Linked DNA regions of Homo sapiens: regions 1, 2 and 3 are each linked to region 4. Evidence: promoter capture Hi-C in 16 types of primary human blood cells and fetal thymus (Javierre and others, 2016). All regions are on one chromosome and are shown on one strand. Each heading gives the region's core, a stretch centred on a gene start or on the middle of the fragment in contact. The rest is flanking DNA. Distances are from core to core; before and after follow the strand shown.

Region 1 (3,948 bases), core at 1,137-3,636, 140 kb after region 4:
ATGGAGCTCACATTGGGGGAGAAAGAGGGTGACAGAAAGAGTTGGTACAAAGGCAGTGGGACAAAGAAGTAATGGGAATAAGAGATAATTGCAGAGGTAGAAATAACAAAACTAAAAGAATAATTCCATGTAGGGATGAAGAGGAGGAGAAATAAATATGATTCTGAGGTTGAAGTCTGAGGAAAACAGGTAAATTATGAAGTTATGATAAAATAATAAGATAGCAAAAGGGAAAGCAGGGTTTTGAAAATTGCAGCTCTAGTTTCTCAAAACTGGAGTTATCAAAAGGTTTAGGTTCGAATTCTGGTTCAGCCACTTTGTAGTTATATTAACACCACAGGAGAGACTTAACCTTTTGAATGAGTCTGTACTTCTGTCAAATAAAGATAATCCTTACTTGCAAAACTAAAATAATTTAAGTTTTTCTCTCTTTCACACACACATGCCTATGTGAATAAACTTCAAAGCCCAGTACGTGGTACACAGAAAATCATCAATATACTATTACCATTGACCCAACCCAGCATTAACCTAGGAATACAGGAACTCATGCATTTAGTAAATGTACATTCAGTGTCTAACAACATCTTAGGAGAATAAACACTAGACATACAGCAGTAAATTAAGATGGAAAAGGTAATTGTTCTCATGGTGCTTACTTTCGGGTGGGTTAATCTCTCTACAAATTAGGTGACCTTTGGTTGCAAAAAGGGCTATGAAGAAAATAAAGCAAACATGATAGATTCCTGTTTTCCAACAAGAATGTAGGTGCTATCAGGTGAACATATGTGGCAGCTGTGGAAAGAGCAACATTAAATCAGGTGGTCAGGGACAGTCTCTAAGAGCTGCCTGACAAATAAATCAGCTGTGAAAAAAGCTGGGATGAGACAAGTCCAGAAGGAAGCATAAGCGCAAAGACCTGGTTTCTGTTTAGAAGGTCTCCTGGCCAGGTCTTACCTGTTAAGTTTTTTTAACTTTTTAAACCTTAGCAACTCATCTGTGACATGGGGATAATAGCTAACATACAAACTTGCTCAGAAAATTCAATAGAAATACATTCATTTATTCAAATATTTATTGGCAAGCCTGGCACTGTCCTAGACACCATGGATAAATAATACCTGGCATATAGTAAGCACTCAGTTAATATACACCATCACAGTTACTCTAATTATTTCTACCCTGCGTTTCTTCAGCATGGCGCTGAAACAGTGTAAGCCTTTACTGACCCAGTGACACACTACTAGGAGCCAAGAAGAGAATACACTAAATAAAGACACTGGGAAATTCCTCAAACCTCCCCCATTTCTAGGGGAAGGCAGGTGTGGCTAAGGGGTCTGAATGAACATTTGTGATATCAATGGGATGAAGAATGAGGTCACCAAGAGACCTGGCATTGCCACAAAAGAGAACCAAAGTTCACTCACCTGGAGCTCTAGTGTCAAGAGATGTGGGGTTATTTCTCCTTCTTTTATACAATTATCTCCGAGAAACGAACAATTCCAAGAAGGAAGCCTGTGAAAGAAAAATGAACAGCAGGATAACATGATTTAATCCCAATTCCCACCACGCCACAGGGGGAAATCTCTCAGTGCCAGCTGGATGTAATCTACCCCTTCCTGTAATCTACCCTCGCTACTTGCTTCAGGAGCCGAGGAAAAGAACCTCTCTTCCTACAGGACTCAGAGTACAAGGGACACGCCATTCCTGATGCCCAAAGAAACCGTCTACAAGCCTACTTTCACTGCCCCTTTCAGGAGACAAGGAGAATCAAGACAAAATCTCAAGATTTTAATCCAGAGCTGACTGTCACATGCTGTGGGACACTTACAAGTGAAATTCTGCCTGTGTGTGCTTAGGCGGCTACAAAAAGCAGAGCCAGCAACGATACAGCAAACCAACTCCTAGGACTTGCACAGCGCTTAATACATTTCAAAGGATAAAATTAGAACACAGGGAATCAACTTCCTGTTTACAGAAATGACTTCGCAGAAAACTCTGAAATTACTCCACAAGTGGGTGGGCGGCTACCCTGAGAAAATTCATGTCATCGATCCGCAACTGACACAGTGGAGTCTCCCGCACTGCAGATCTCATCTCAAAGCCAGAGCTGGCCTCAAACTGCTTTTCCAAGCCTGGACTGCGAGGGCTGCCGACCCGGGCCCACCCCGCACAGGCGCTCAGAATGTTCGATACGTGCGCCTCCTTACACCCCTGCCTCACCAGGCCGAGCTCATGGAAATCCGTGGGCTTCGACCCTCCGCCGCACGTTGTCCCTTCACACTGGTCCTATAGAGCCGATCCTAATTCCCATGGCCTGACAGTACAACCGCATGGAGATGCACGTCTCTAAGACGCCTCACCACTGCCTAAGAAGCAATCAAGGTGACGCGCCCACCGGAAACGGAAGTAGTCGACTCGAGGTGTGGGACTACCTTTCCCAGAACCCTCCGCAGCGCAGTCCGATCCTAGGGGCGATGGTGTCGTAAATGCGCGTCCACCTCGAGTCACGCCCACTGCGAGGCGGCGGGAGGCGGCATGCAAGGTGTTTCTGAGTTGAAAAGAATGTCTTTACTCAGTACTAACATATTCGCGTTGTAGCAAACCTGACTATATTCTCAAACAAGCCCATCATCCCATCACCAGGGATATAAAGCATTATTGATTTTCTGGTGTAAAAGCCAACTAAATATTTATTTCAAAAGTAGTTCATATTACATGTAAAGAATGGTTTAAAAAAAATTCTTACTTAATCCCTGGTTTATGTGAGTAAATATGAATTCTTAAGAATCCCATTTCCCAAATGGCATCATAATATTTTGTAATCATTTCTTGCCACAGGTCATATATCGTGGATAGTTCTGTATGTCACAAAAGACGTAGAGATACATAGAGATAATAAAAAAACACAAATTATTTGCAATACTTGCCTAGCATTCTTTAGTTTTTAGGGAAGTTACCCCTTTGTCCTGCATTGAACTTACACTTCTAATTTTATGATATCAAAACTACACACAATCACTTTCTTTAATATTTTCCCAATTTGATGGACTAAATATCCTGTCTTATTTTCCCAATTTGACAGAGTAAATATGCTTATTACCGATTGCATTTCATTGTCATCTTTTATTGTCATACACTCTCTGTGTATGAATGATATCGCTTCTAAGTGATGAATTGCTCCCCCAGTTTCAACATTTATAAAGTAGTTTAGAAAAAAAAAAAAACAAAAAACTTCATCTGACAAGGTATATCAGTCTTTTCATTTGTGGCTTCTTTTTTTTCTCCAGTATGACCAAAAAGACATTCCTTAGCCTGATTCCCAATAAGTGCATATCTATATTCATTTCAGGCTCTTTCATTTTTCTTTTGAATCACCGCGTGATTCATTTAAGTGTATGATATGAAAGGAAGATGGAGTTTCCTGTTTCACCAAAGGATTGTCTACTTTTCTTAACAAAATTTACATAAATATTAATTCTTTCCTTTCTGATTTAAACGGCATCCTAATCACTTACTACATTACTATATATATAATGAAATATTTTCTGGGATACAAGTGTGTTCTGAAGATAGAGATTGCTTTTTCTGTGCCATGATGAAAGGTTTCAGTTACAGTGATAACTCATTTCCTTATCTCTCCCTCCTTGTTGTGTTTCAAAAATTTCATCCTAGAAGTTCTAGAACTCTCTCTTATAAACAGATTATCGAATTGTTTTGATAAATTCTAAAAAATTGCCAATTGACTCCAAAGCATCCAAGCCCTTCAGATATTTGGTTCCAAACCCACCCCTCTTTGCTTGGGTAGACACAGTCCTACTTCCCATCCTGTGTCCTCCAGTTTTACAAATGTCTGAATTTGCTGCTATTGTTCTTCCCTCTGTAAGTCCATCCTTTCCTGTACTATTAAAATCTTACTCCATATTTAAGACACAACTTGAATATAAT
Region 2 (3,575 bases), core at 166-2,665, 170 kb before region 4:
TCACGATGCTATGATAATTTCTATTCTGGTTCTTTTTCCTAAATGCTTTTTAGAAGGTTTCAGATTTATTTTACAGCTCACTAAGAGTCTGTAGTGTTTATTTTGAAAATGGGTATAAAGGTCTGTTTCTTTACATCATATTTTTTCTGCTATCTGTTTTCAATGAGACAGTCCAATAACTTCACATGGAACCAATCAGGGCATGACCCCTTAGGCGTTCTTTTCATCCCAGGTGATCTTACCAACTTTCATTGTCTCATCAGGATCATCCCCCTTTGTGTATTTCTGTCAGGTCCAGCCTTTCAGATTCCCATCAAAACTGAAGGTTTCTGATCCTTTTCTATTTCAGGTAACCAAGTTATTGTTCATATCAGTACAGACAAATGAGATTATACATGTTCTGCAAAAATTCTTGTACAGGAATACTCTGAAAATGTAGACATAAATACTCCTAGGTATTTGATATTTAGTATTGTGAAGAGCTTAACCAATTGCAAAGTTTAAAGTGACAGCTCACAGAAGACTGCTGTCACTGCATACCAATGACAAATTCAGTGGTTTCCCCAAATTATTTTCATGTTCCATATTCTTAAAATTATGGGTTTTTATAGGGGAAAGATGCATATTACAATTAGGAGAAAAATCAAGTAAGACAGAGTCCAGGGAAGTATCAAATGAGAACTTTTTATTGTACTCTCCCCATGAAATCAGGATGCATTACATCCCCAAGATTAAGGTGTGACATTAGACGGGAGGAGAGCCTATCAGGGAAGCTTTCCTGAGCCCTGGTATTCAGAGTAATCGTTGTCTGTTAATTACATAGCCATTATTGGTTGATTTCTTTCCCGTATGAGTAGTCTCAGTCTCCTGGTTGACTGATTCCACATGACCTAAAGCCTCACCATAAATCACATTGTTGGTCTTTCTCACATAGTGAGCACCACATTCTCCTCATAGGTGTGGCCACCCATAATCCTAAATCGTAGAATTACACCGTCCAGAGTGACTTACTAGACCTACTACCTCCAGGCAAACAAAGACACTCTCCTAGGGCATGACATTTTAAGGACTGAGAGATTGCCTCTCAGATGCTGAGGACATCACCCAGGCCTCTTTGTGACTTAGGATAATTTCTTTACTTCATAAGGATATACAATACAAACTAAAATATACAAAGTTTTGACGATGTTATGGCTTCTCCTTAAAGTTCACATTTGATTCATATTTCACTGTTTACATAATTTATTAGTTACATAATTTACCATGCAAGGTTTTATTTCTACCAAGTATTTCACATATGACACGTGGTGTGGTTCTGAATTGGTCTCATGCAAACCAGAGTCCATAGTGTACCTGGAAAACACATTGGCTGGGCACAGTGGCTCAAGCCTGTAATCCCAGCACTTTGGGAGGCCAAAATGGGAGTATCACTTGTGGCCAGGAGTTCAAGACCAGCCTTGGCAACATAGCAAGACCTTGTCTCTACAAAAAGTGTAAAAATTAGCTAGTTATGGTGGTATGTGCCTGTAGTCCTAGCTACTCAGGAGGCAGAGGTGGGAGGATCACTTGAGCCCAGGAGGTCAAGGCTGCAGCGAGCCATGATTGTGTCCCTGCACTCCAGCCTGGGTGACAGAGGGAGACACTCTCTTTAAAAAAGGAAAATACAGGGCTGGGCGCAGTGGCTTACACCTGTAATCCCAGCACTTTGGGAGGCTGAGGAGGGCGGATCACGAGGTCAGGAGATCGAGACCATCCTGGCTAACACAGTGAAAACCCATCTGTACTAAGAATACAAAAAATTAGCTGGGCGTGGTGGCGGGCGCCTATAGTCCCAGCTACTGAGGAGGCTGAGGCGGGAGAATGGTGTGAACAACCCAGGAGGTGGAGCTTGCAGTGAGCGGAGATCACGCCACTGCACTCCAGCCTGGGGGACAGAGCGAGACTCCATCTCAAAAAAAAAAAAAAAAAAAAAAAAGGAAAATACAATCTGAACATTCCCTATATTTATTAAAATTTCAGGCTATGTCCTAAGTATGAAATCTTGATAACACTGAATAAAAGCTTTACTTGCCCACATCTCTTAATTCTGTGTCATTATAGGAGGCAAGATCCAAATGGAGATGGAGACTGTTTCAGAATCAGGAACACATGAAGGCTTGTTCAGTCATCAAACCTGGGAACAAATTTCAAGTGACTTAACCAGGTTTCAAGACTCCATGGTAAACAGCTTTCAGTTCTCCAAACAAGATGATATGCCCTGCCAGGTTGATGCAGGACTATCTATAATTCACGTAAGACAGAAACCTTCTGAGGGTAGGACGTGTAAAAAGTCCTTTAGTGATGTCTCCGTCCTTGATCTTCATCAACAACTACAGTCAAGAGAGAAGTCTCATACATGTGATGAATGTGGAAAGAGTTTCTGTTATAGCTCAGCTCTTCGTATTCATCAGAGAGTTCACATGGGGGAGAAACTCTATAATTGTGATGTGTGTGGTAAGGAATTCAATCAGAGCTCACATCTGCAAATTCATCAGAGAATCCACACTGGAGAGAAACCATTCAAATGTGAGCAGTGTGGGAAAGGCTTTAGTCGTAGATCAGGACTTTATGTTCATCGTAAATTACACACAGGAGTGAAACCTCATATTTGTGAGAAATGTGGGAAGGCCTTCATTCATGATTCCCAGCTTCAGGAACATCAAAGAATCCATACTGGGGAGAAGCCATTCAAATGTGATATATGTTGTAAGAGCTTCCGTAGTAGAGCAAATCTTAATAGGCATTCCATGGTTCACATGCGAGAGAAACCATTCAGATGTGATACATGTGGTAAGAGCTTTGGTCTGAAATCAGCACTTAATAGTCATCGCATGGTCCACACAGGAGAGAAACGGTACAAATGTGAGGAATGTGGAAAACGCTTCATTTATAGGCAAGATCTTTATAAGCATCAGATAGACCACACAGGGGAGAAGCCATATAATTGTAAAGAATGTGGAAAGAGCTTCAGATGGGCCTCAGGTCTTTCAAGACATGTGCGAGTCCACAGTGGAGAGACAACATTCAAATGTGAAGAATGTGGGAAGGGATTTTATACAAATTCACAACGTTATTCTCACCAGAGAGCGCACAGTGGAGAAAAGCCATATAGATGTGAGGAGTGTGGGAAGGGCTACAAAAGGAGGTTGGATCTTGACTTTCATCAGAGGGTCCACAGAGGAGAGAAACCCTATAATTGTAAGGAATGTGGGAAGAGCTTTGGCTGGGCCTCGTGTCTTTTGAATCATCAGAGAATCCACAGTGGAGAAAAACCATTTAAATGTGAAGAATGTGGGAAAAGATTTACTCAGAATTCACAACTTTATACCCATCGTAGAGTCCACAGTGGAGAAAAACCATTCAAATGTGAAGAGTGTGGGAAAAGATTTACTCAGAATTCACAACTTTATTCTCATCGCAGAGTCCACACTGGAGTAAAGCCATACAAATGTGAAGAGTGTGGGAAGGGCTTCAACAGTAAGTTTAATCTTGACATGCACCAGAGGGTCCACACCGGAGAGAGACCTTATAATTGT
Region 3 (3,609 bases), core at 520-3,019, 230 kb before region 4:
TGAAGTTTCATTCTTCTATATGTGGATATCATGTTTTTCTAGCACCATTTATTGAAGAGACTGTCCTTTTCCCAATATATATACTTAGCACCTTTGTTGAAAATGAGCTCACTGTAGGTGTAGAAATTTATTTCTGGATTTTCTAGTTTACGCAGCACTAAAAAGAATGTACTGTACATGAAGTGATTTCTAGGATATGTTGTTACATGACCATAGAAGAGTTAGAAACGTGCTTTCTTTTAAGTAATAATGGAAAATAAGAAATCTACACATACTGATACGGTTTGGCTGTGTCTCCACCCAAATCTCATCTTGAATTATAGCTCCCATAATTCCCACATATCATGAAAGGGACCTAGTAGGAGGTAATTGAATCATGGGAGTGGGTCTTTCCCATGCTGTTCTCGTGATAGCAAGGACAGATAGAGGAGTGACTTTGAATAGAATGGGAGGCAGGTTTGCCCTAAGCGATTTCCAGCTTGAGATTTCCTTAGTGATTTTGGGGGCCCAAGATATTTTCCTTTCACAATACTAAGCAGTTTAATTTCTCTTAAATGTGGCATTTCCACGTCTAAAGAATATTAATATGAAAACTTTAAAAGTGGGAAGATAGCTTTTCCAGGAGGGCAATTGGCCCTCCATATTGGCCCTTGACAGGGCAGGAGCATCGCCATCTTGGACAAACACTGCCATTTTAAAGTTCGCGTTGATCAAAAACTGCCTAAATCCAAAGGGCATCAGCCTAATGGCTAAGGTCAGCATGACCATAAACCACAAATGACATCTCCAATCAGAAACATTCCAACCATAAGATAAACCCCTCCCTGACCAGAGACATGCCAGCACCGAGATAACCTCCCTTCCATTGGAGAGATGTCAGTCCCAAGATAACTTCCCCTCCAACCAGAGATATTCCAACCCCACAACAGACTTCTCCCCAATACAGAAACATTCTAAGCCTGTGGTAAGCTCTCTCTCCCTAAAGCCAATACATACTCTTAGTCCGTAAGAGAGAGCGCTCCTGACTGCAATCGGCCAGAAGGCCCTCTCGGTTTATTCTCCAAAACGAACCTGTCTTTGACTGTTGAGCCGCTTTTCGTGTTTTTTTTTTTTTTCTCTTTAACTCTTACAGCCCTCTTAAACACTTAAACTGTGGTTGTTTTTCTTGCCAAACCAGTGGTACAACAGTGTCTGGTTGTACCAGGGGCTGGTGCCCCACTCAATGCCTCTCCCAAACCATTTTTCCTGGCCCATTATTTAAGCTCTTAGATTTAGCCTCATACTATTAGCGTCTAGTATATTAGCCTTTCAGCCATCTCCTGACCGCTCCACAGTCACTCCCCGCTAACTCCTTGAAGATTGTATCTCCTTGCTTTGTTCTCTTTCAGTAACACTCCTGTCATCATGGGAGGCGTGTAGACTTCAGGAATTCCTGTCTATTCAATATTTTCTCTCGAGGACGCAGGGAGAGGGAAGGACCACTCTCAGGGCCACAGTCCATATTCCAAACCAGGCGCTTGGGTCTATGGGATTCATTCCTCGTGGGCATTGCAGGAAGTGTAGTCAAAGAGCACCGCGGAGTCCCACGCTTCCCGCCGGAAGGTGATACTATAGAACGTCTCCTTTGAGATTCAAGGAAGTGTAGCGCAGGAGATCTGTTGAATGACGAGCAAGTAGGCTCAGGACGGCGTATCCGGGGAATTCTGGGAAATGTAGTTCACACGCTGCGCGGGGTAGGGGCACTTCCGCTCCCGGGGGGCGAGGTTGCTGCAGTGCATTCGGTGGTAGTTTGGTGTCAGTCCTGTGTCTTGTCGGTCCTTCTAAACGTGTCCCCTTACGATGCTGGCTCGCAACCACCTGGAAGTTGACTAAGGGGAGAAGGAGTCTCGTTGGAAAACGGAGGTTTGGAGGGACAACGGCCTCTCTTTTCGTTCTTGTCAGCGGAGCCTTCTTGGTCTTGGGGCTGTCCTCGCGTCCCCGGGCATGAGGCTGGGGGTTGGGACTTGGTCGGGACGCGTCTCGCCTGGTTTGAGGGTTTTTGGGGCTCTCAGCTCGCTCAGTCCGCCTCCCTCCATCCCACCTGTGAGGCTACTTTCTCACAATTTAGGGTTGGGATGTTATTAATCTCCCTGTACCTCCCACTGCTGTTCTTTAAAATGGGGACTTTAGGACCATCCTAATGAAATCGTTTTGGGAACTGGAAGAGGTAACACAAATGAAAGCCTTAAAGCAGCCCCTCCCTTAGTGACTGGTGGTCTCTTCTTAGTGTTTATTTCCCACGAAGCCTGTCAGGTCCCCGGGTGGGGTCAGAGCTCCATCTGCAGGGATCCCCGCCCTTGTCTCTGATTCCTGCAGGACGCTGGGTGATCCCGGACGCTTCTGACCTCTTTTTAGGAAGGCGAGGGTTGTTTCCATTTCCACGAAGGGAGAGGAACATTTAACTTTTATGCCGGACGGCAATGCGGTCAGGGTGTTTCACAGCTTTCTCCTTCCCCAGCCTGATTCTCAAAAAGAGCTGCAGGGAGGGACTTCTTGGCTACTGAGGGCAAAGTTCCACGAGAGTGGTCCTTGGCTTTTTTTCTTTTACAGAGATGCTCACCCCGACCAAGAGTGTAGGATGTGTCCTCAGGCATGGGTGTTGATAATAATTAAGCCTCAATTGGTAACTTTATCCCAAGAGCTTTATACAAGTAGTCACATTTTCGCCACACCGTGGCTCTGTGGAGAGGTACTACTTTTTTCAGTTTTAAAGATGAGTGAGATACAAAGGAGCAGGAGTTATCTGAGAATAGTCACCTAAGCAGTAAGAGGTGGAGCTGCGGTTGAAACCTGGGCGTTACAGGTCAGAGCCTTAGTTGATAATCTTTTGGATACATTCTCATTGAGGCAGAGGAACTAGCTGGAATCTAGTGGGGAAAGCAAGCTAGGACTTGATTGAAGGGAGCCTTGAGAGCAAGGCTTATGGGCTTGGACTGTTCTGGGAGTTTATCAACTATTTCATTCATTAGAACTATTTCATTTATTACAAATATTTCACTTGTTATGCAGCGGTATGATTGTGGAGCGTTCAGAAATTGGAGAAATACGAGTAGTACAAGTTTATAATTACCCATGAATCCAGCATGTAAAGATAGTAACTGTTAAACTTCGAGTGCATTTTTTTTTTTTTTTTGAGACAGAGTCTCACTGTGTTGCCCAGGCTGGAGTGCAGTGGCACGATCTCGGCTCACTGCTAACTCCGCCTCCCAGGTTCACGCCATTCTCCTGCCTCAGCCTCCTGTGTGAGTAGCTGGGACCACAGGCGCCCGCCACCACGCCCGGCTAATTTTTTTGTAGTTTTAGTAGAGATGAGGTTTCACCGTGTTAGCCAGGATGGTCTTGATCTCCTGACCTCATGATCCACCAGCCTCGGCCTCCCAAAGTGCTGGGATTACAGGCGTGAGCCACCGCACCCGGTGCATTTCTTTTTGGTCTTTCTTTGGCATATTTGCATATTTATTTATAAACATTTAAACAAAATTTTATGATTAAAAAAATGTGTTTTCCCTTATGTGTTTAACTATGGAAATTTGGAAACACTGCCAAGAGGGAAATAGCTAGTGAACTTAC
Region 4 (3,929 bases), core at 278-2,777:
GTCACCATGGCACTTTTATGTGACACTTCAGAGAAAGGTCCCCCTGTCTCTAGGCAGACACAGTTGCACACGGCTTAGTGAGGAGAACGGGAGCTAGCTCCCAGCTACCCCTCGGCCCCCTCAACCAGCTGCTTTTGTTCATGAACATTTCATATTAACAGACCTAAATCAAATACAGCTCTCTGTGTACTCCTTCTGAACTTTAGTTTCCAAGGAAATGAGACACAGACAGGCAGGGGAATGTAACAGAGCCAAAATGCCTGGCTTCAAATTTTGGCATTTCTACCTATTTTCAACTGATCAGCAGTATAAACCTTAAGCGAATTATTAATCTCTCTGTGCCTTAATTCAGTTACCTGTGAATGGGGACAATAATAATGCCTGTATTCTCTATTTCCTGCAGCTTCTGACAAGCAAGTGCTATTATGCTTCATAAAACTGCCCTTTTGAGTATGCTTTCTAGAAAATGAATCTTTTAAGAAACCCAGAACTCAAAAATAATTGCTCTGTCCTGTGAGTTACCATTACCCTCAGAAAAGTCTGTAACTGTGATTGGTTGTCTAACATAATTAGTTCCGTTGGTAATGATAGTTAAACTGCCACAGGTTTTTTTTTCCTCCAACAGATGTAATTACTTGCAAATGTTACTAAGCTGGAGGAGCCTCAAGAAAGTCTCTTTTTCCACATGCATGAAAGCAATGACTAATAAAAACCTAAAACTCTCTAAGAAATGGTGTTACACTTAAGTTAACCACACGGGATTATTGGTTATAACCACATTATACTGAACATTTATTAGGGCCTCAGGACACCTCTGGCACTCTGCAAATCCGTAATGACGATCGCTTATCTGAGATAAAACACACAGGACATTCCCCAGGCTCCGCTGGAACTAATTCCTGTCTCCTAAACAAGAGGCTAGAAAAGTCCAAGAATCCAGGAACGGCCCCACATCAGGCAAGGATTAGAGAAGGGACAGCGGCTCCGTAGCTGGATCTCCTAGACTCAGAGGAGTTTCCAAACAACAGGCGTCTTTTTCAGTATTATAACAGAATTAACGGTGGCATCCAACATTTTCCTATGCACTGGTTTTAAGCTTATTTCTATAAAACCTCATTTAATTCTCACAAGAACATCACTGGGAACGCACTAACCCTTTACAGGCACGAGGAAACTGAGACAAGGAGAGATTAAGTAACTTGCCCAATATTTTACTGCGAGGAGCAGGCAGGACTGGCTGGTAGGTGCGTGAGGACGGCTAGGGCAGCAGACCCTCAACCTCGAAGGACGACGCGAGCCCGCCTCCCACGCAAGAGGTTCTGCCGAGGGGACGCAAACTCCCGCAGCCTCCCAACCCCGCCCTCCAGCGCTGGCCGCGGCTTCTCTTCCCCAAGCCAAGGACGGGTTCATTGCTGGCCCCACGCCTAGGCAAAGAGGGCTCGGAGAAGTCTTGGAGACCCGGAGCTGACTCACCTCCCTGGGAGATATCTCAGATCCGACCTCGCCTTCCTGGAGCGGAAGTGCCTCCGAGTGCCCACGGTTCGTGGACTCCACTTCCCAGAATTCCTAAGCGGAAGCGTCTCAGAGTTCTCTCACTCCTGGACTACAGTTCCCAGAATGCTCCAAGGGCAGCGCTTCCCACCAGCTGGGCTTTGTTTTGACTCAAGCCGGTTGGGTTTGAGCCACTTCTCTGGTGCTACTACTGTGAGATTCGTTTTTGTTTTATTCATTTTTAAAAGCTCATGAGAAAATAATTGTAAAATTTTTAAAGTGATGACATATAAAAATGAAAAGTGCAGCTTGTATTATTAAAATAAGTTAGAAACCAAAATTTTTCGCAGAAGCAGAGGGTAGGCTAAAATGGGAAGCGTAAAAGTGACTTAGGCTGAGCTCCGATGGACGCTGAACGTTAAGGAACACCAGATCTCAAACTTGTGTCAAATGCCGGCTCCCCAAATATCATCAACTCAACCTGTTGATAAGACAAAAAACAGAATTTATTGTTGATTGCAGTAATGGAGAACAACACTTCGACGGAGCGTTGGCACCTTCACAGAGCAAAGTGTCAAGGCAAGGTTGGAACTGATTGAGAACTGGATGTTTAAGGCGGGTCTTTCAATGCAAGGGATTTTATTAGTATTGCATAATGATCATGATACTACAGTCCAGGATTGGTGGATATAGCAAGGATTTTTGAAGCAAAGAATCTTAAATTGCAATCTATTGACACTTTCTTTGGAAGAGATTGAAAATTTGATGGGTCTCTGTGGAAGTTCCCATAATGAACAATTAAACAGTTTGCTTGGGCAGGAATCTCCTGGAATAAAGGCCTGCTGATGAAGACAGCTGAACAATCATGTTAGTGCCGAAAGTAAATTGTGATGAAACGGGAAAAGTTCACTTCTCCCTCTCCCAGGGCATGTGATGGGGTGTGGCTCGCTTCTTCGTGCCCAGCCGCTCAAACCTCTAGGGGAGCATGCACACGGGCAGGTTGTAGGGCTCCAACCCCACGGCAGTGTCTAGGGGTGAATGTTTACAGCTCCTGAAGCCCCAGTGGGCGTGTGTTATAGGGTGCTTTTTTAGTTCAGCCATCTGTAGGAGGCTTGTGTTAGCTCAATTAGACCCCTGACTTATCGCAAGCAAGAGAGGGCTTTCTGTATCCCAGAGGTTCTTGCCTTGGTGTACCAGAAGAATCGCATCACACATAGGCTTGGAGAAAGAGTGCAAGGATTGGAGAAACCTTGGAGAACGATTTGTAAGTAGCTCTCAGCAGAAGGGGGAGCCAGAAGGGAGATGGTTTTCGCCTGGAGTCAGCCTCTCAGCGGCCTGGGCGCTCCTCCGACTACCCAGGCCAAACTGCGTTATTCCACCGGTTAATGGCCTGCTGGCCTGCCGGTCTCTTCAGTGTGCTCTTTTGCCGACCCGCTCCCCTCGACAGCCTCTCGACAGCCAGCTGTTTGTGTGTCCGCCAATGCTCTCCTCTCAACGTCCAGCAGCTTGTGTCTCTGCCTGCTAGGGTATCAGGGTTTTTATAGGCACAGGATGGGGGCGTGGTGGGCCAGGGTGGTCTTGGGAAATGCAATATTTGGGCACAAAGGCAGGAATGCCTGTCCTCACCTAGGTCCGTGGCCACAGGCCTGGGGGTAGAGCCCTAGTCAGGGACCACACCCTTCTCCCCTCCAGCACTTCCATTCCCCTCTTCCGTATCAGTGAGGGGCAGGGAAAGAGGATGGAGTTTTAGTCCTTAGTGTCCAAGTTGTGTATATTTAGGGGTCGGTGACAAGGAGAGAAGGGAGTAAAGTGTTTGACTCTTTTCCCTCCATTATTCCTCAAGGTACCTAAGGGCTCATGACAGTGTTTTGTTTAATGTGCTATTCGTTCTAATATACTAAGAACCCACAAAAAGGCAATATAAATATTAAGCCAGAGAAATATCTTGAACTTCATTTATTTTAAATGTGTACTGTTATGGCAAACAAAAGCAGCTCCATTGGCCGGGAATCTAAGACAACGTTGTAATATGGGCATGTGTAAAATCTTGAATTGTTTTCTAATTTGTGTTCGGCTTCAAATATTTCATTACATACTTTGATCCTGATCCTGACATAAATGAAATTAAGTGTCTTATGGTTGAATAAACTAGATGAAACAAAGAAGCCGTGATTTTTCTCCTAGGCAGGTATAAATATACAGGTGACCATTGAAAAACACAAGGGTTAGGGGAGCTGACCCCTGGGCAGTTGAAAAATCTACCTGTAAGTTTTGACTCCCCCAAAACTTAACTTACTTAACTACCAATAACCTGTTGACCAGAAGCCTTACCAATAACATAAACAATTAACATATATATGTGTATATATATATATGTTTTTTGTTTTGTTTTTTGAGACAGAGTCTTGCTCTTGTTGCACAGGCTGGAGTGTAATGGC

Evidence for each region. Contacts are between HindIII fragments. The CHiCAGO score rates a contact against its expected background, and 5 or more counts as called.
Region 1: the fragment with the promoter of ZNF229 here is called in contact with the fragment with the promoter of ZNF235 in region 4 in 3 of 17 cell types (neutrophils, megakaryocytes and M1 macrophages); the score reaches 6.1 in neutrophils.
Region 2: a contact is called between a fragment that was not itself captured here and the fragment with the promoter of ZNF235 in region 4, in 3 of 17 cell types (total CD4 T cells, naive CD8 T cells and total B cells). The highest score is 7.2, in total CD4 T cells.
Region 3: the fragment with the promoter of ZNF284 here is called in contact with the fragment with the promoter of ZNF235 in region 4 in 7 of 17 cell types (non-activated CD4 T cells, naive CD8 T cells, naive CD4 T cells and 4 more); the score reaches 7.2 in non-activated CD4 T cells.

What each region holds. Positions count from the first base shown.
Region 1 is chr19:44,446,086-44,450,033 of GRCh38, forward strand. It overlaps ZNF229 (zinc finger protein 229), which reads right to left and starts at 2,387. Exons shown (of 6, transcript NM_014518.4): 1 at 2,224-2,387; 2 at 1,428-1,515. The HindIII fragment of the contact is 11,359 bases long and covers 1-3,948 here.
Region 2 is chr19:44,128,750-44,132,324 of GRCh38, forward strand. ZNF225 (zinc finger protein 225) reads left to right here. Exons shown (of 5, transcript NM_013362.4): 5 at 2,101-3,575. Among named protein-coding and RNA genes, the nearest start is that of ZNF234, 11 kb to the right of the region's middle. The HindIII fragment of the contact is 1,288 bases long and covers 772-2,059 here.
Region 3 is chr19:44,070,390-44,073,998 of GRCh38, forward strand. It overlaps ZNF284 (zinc finger protein 284), which reads left to right and starts at 1,770. Exons shown (of 5, transcript NM_001037813.4): 1 at 1,770-1,902. The HindIII fragment of the contact is 12,821 bases long and covers 1-3,609 here.
Region 4 is chr19:44,303,498-44,307,426 of GRCh38, forward strand. ZNF235 (zinc finger protein 235) reads right to left here and starts at 1,528. Exons shown (of 5, transcript NM_004234.4): 1 at 1,474-1,528. RefSeq lists enhancers at 1,311-1,864, 2,441-2,942, 2,943-3,442. The HindIII fragment of the contact is 5,796 bases long and covers 1,095-3,929 here.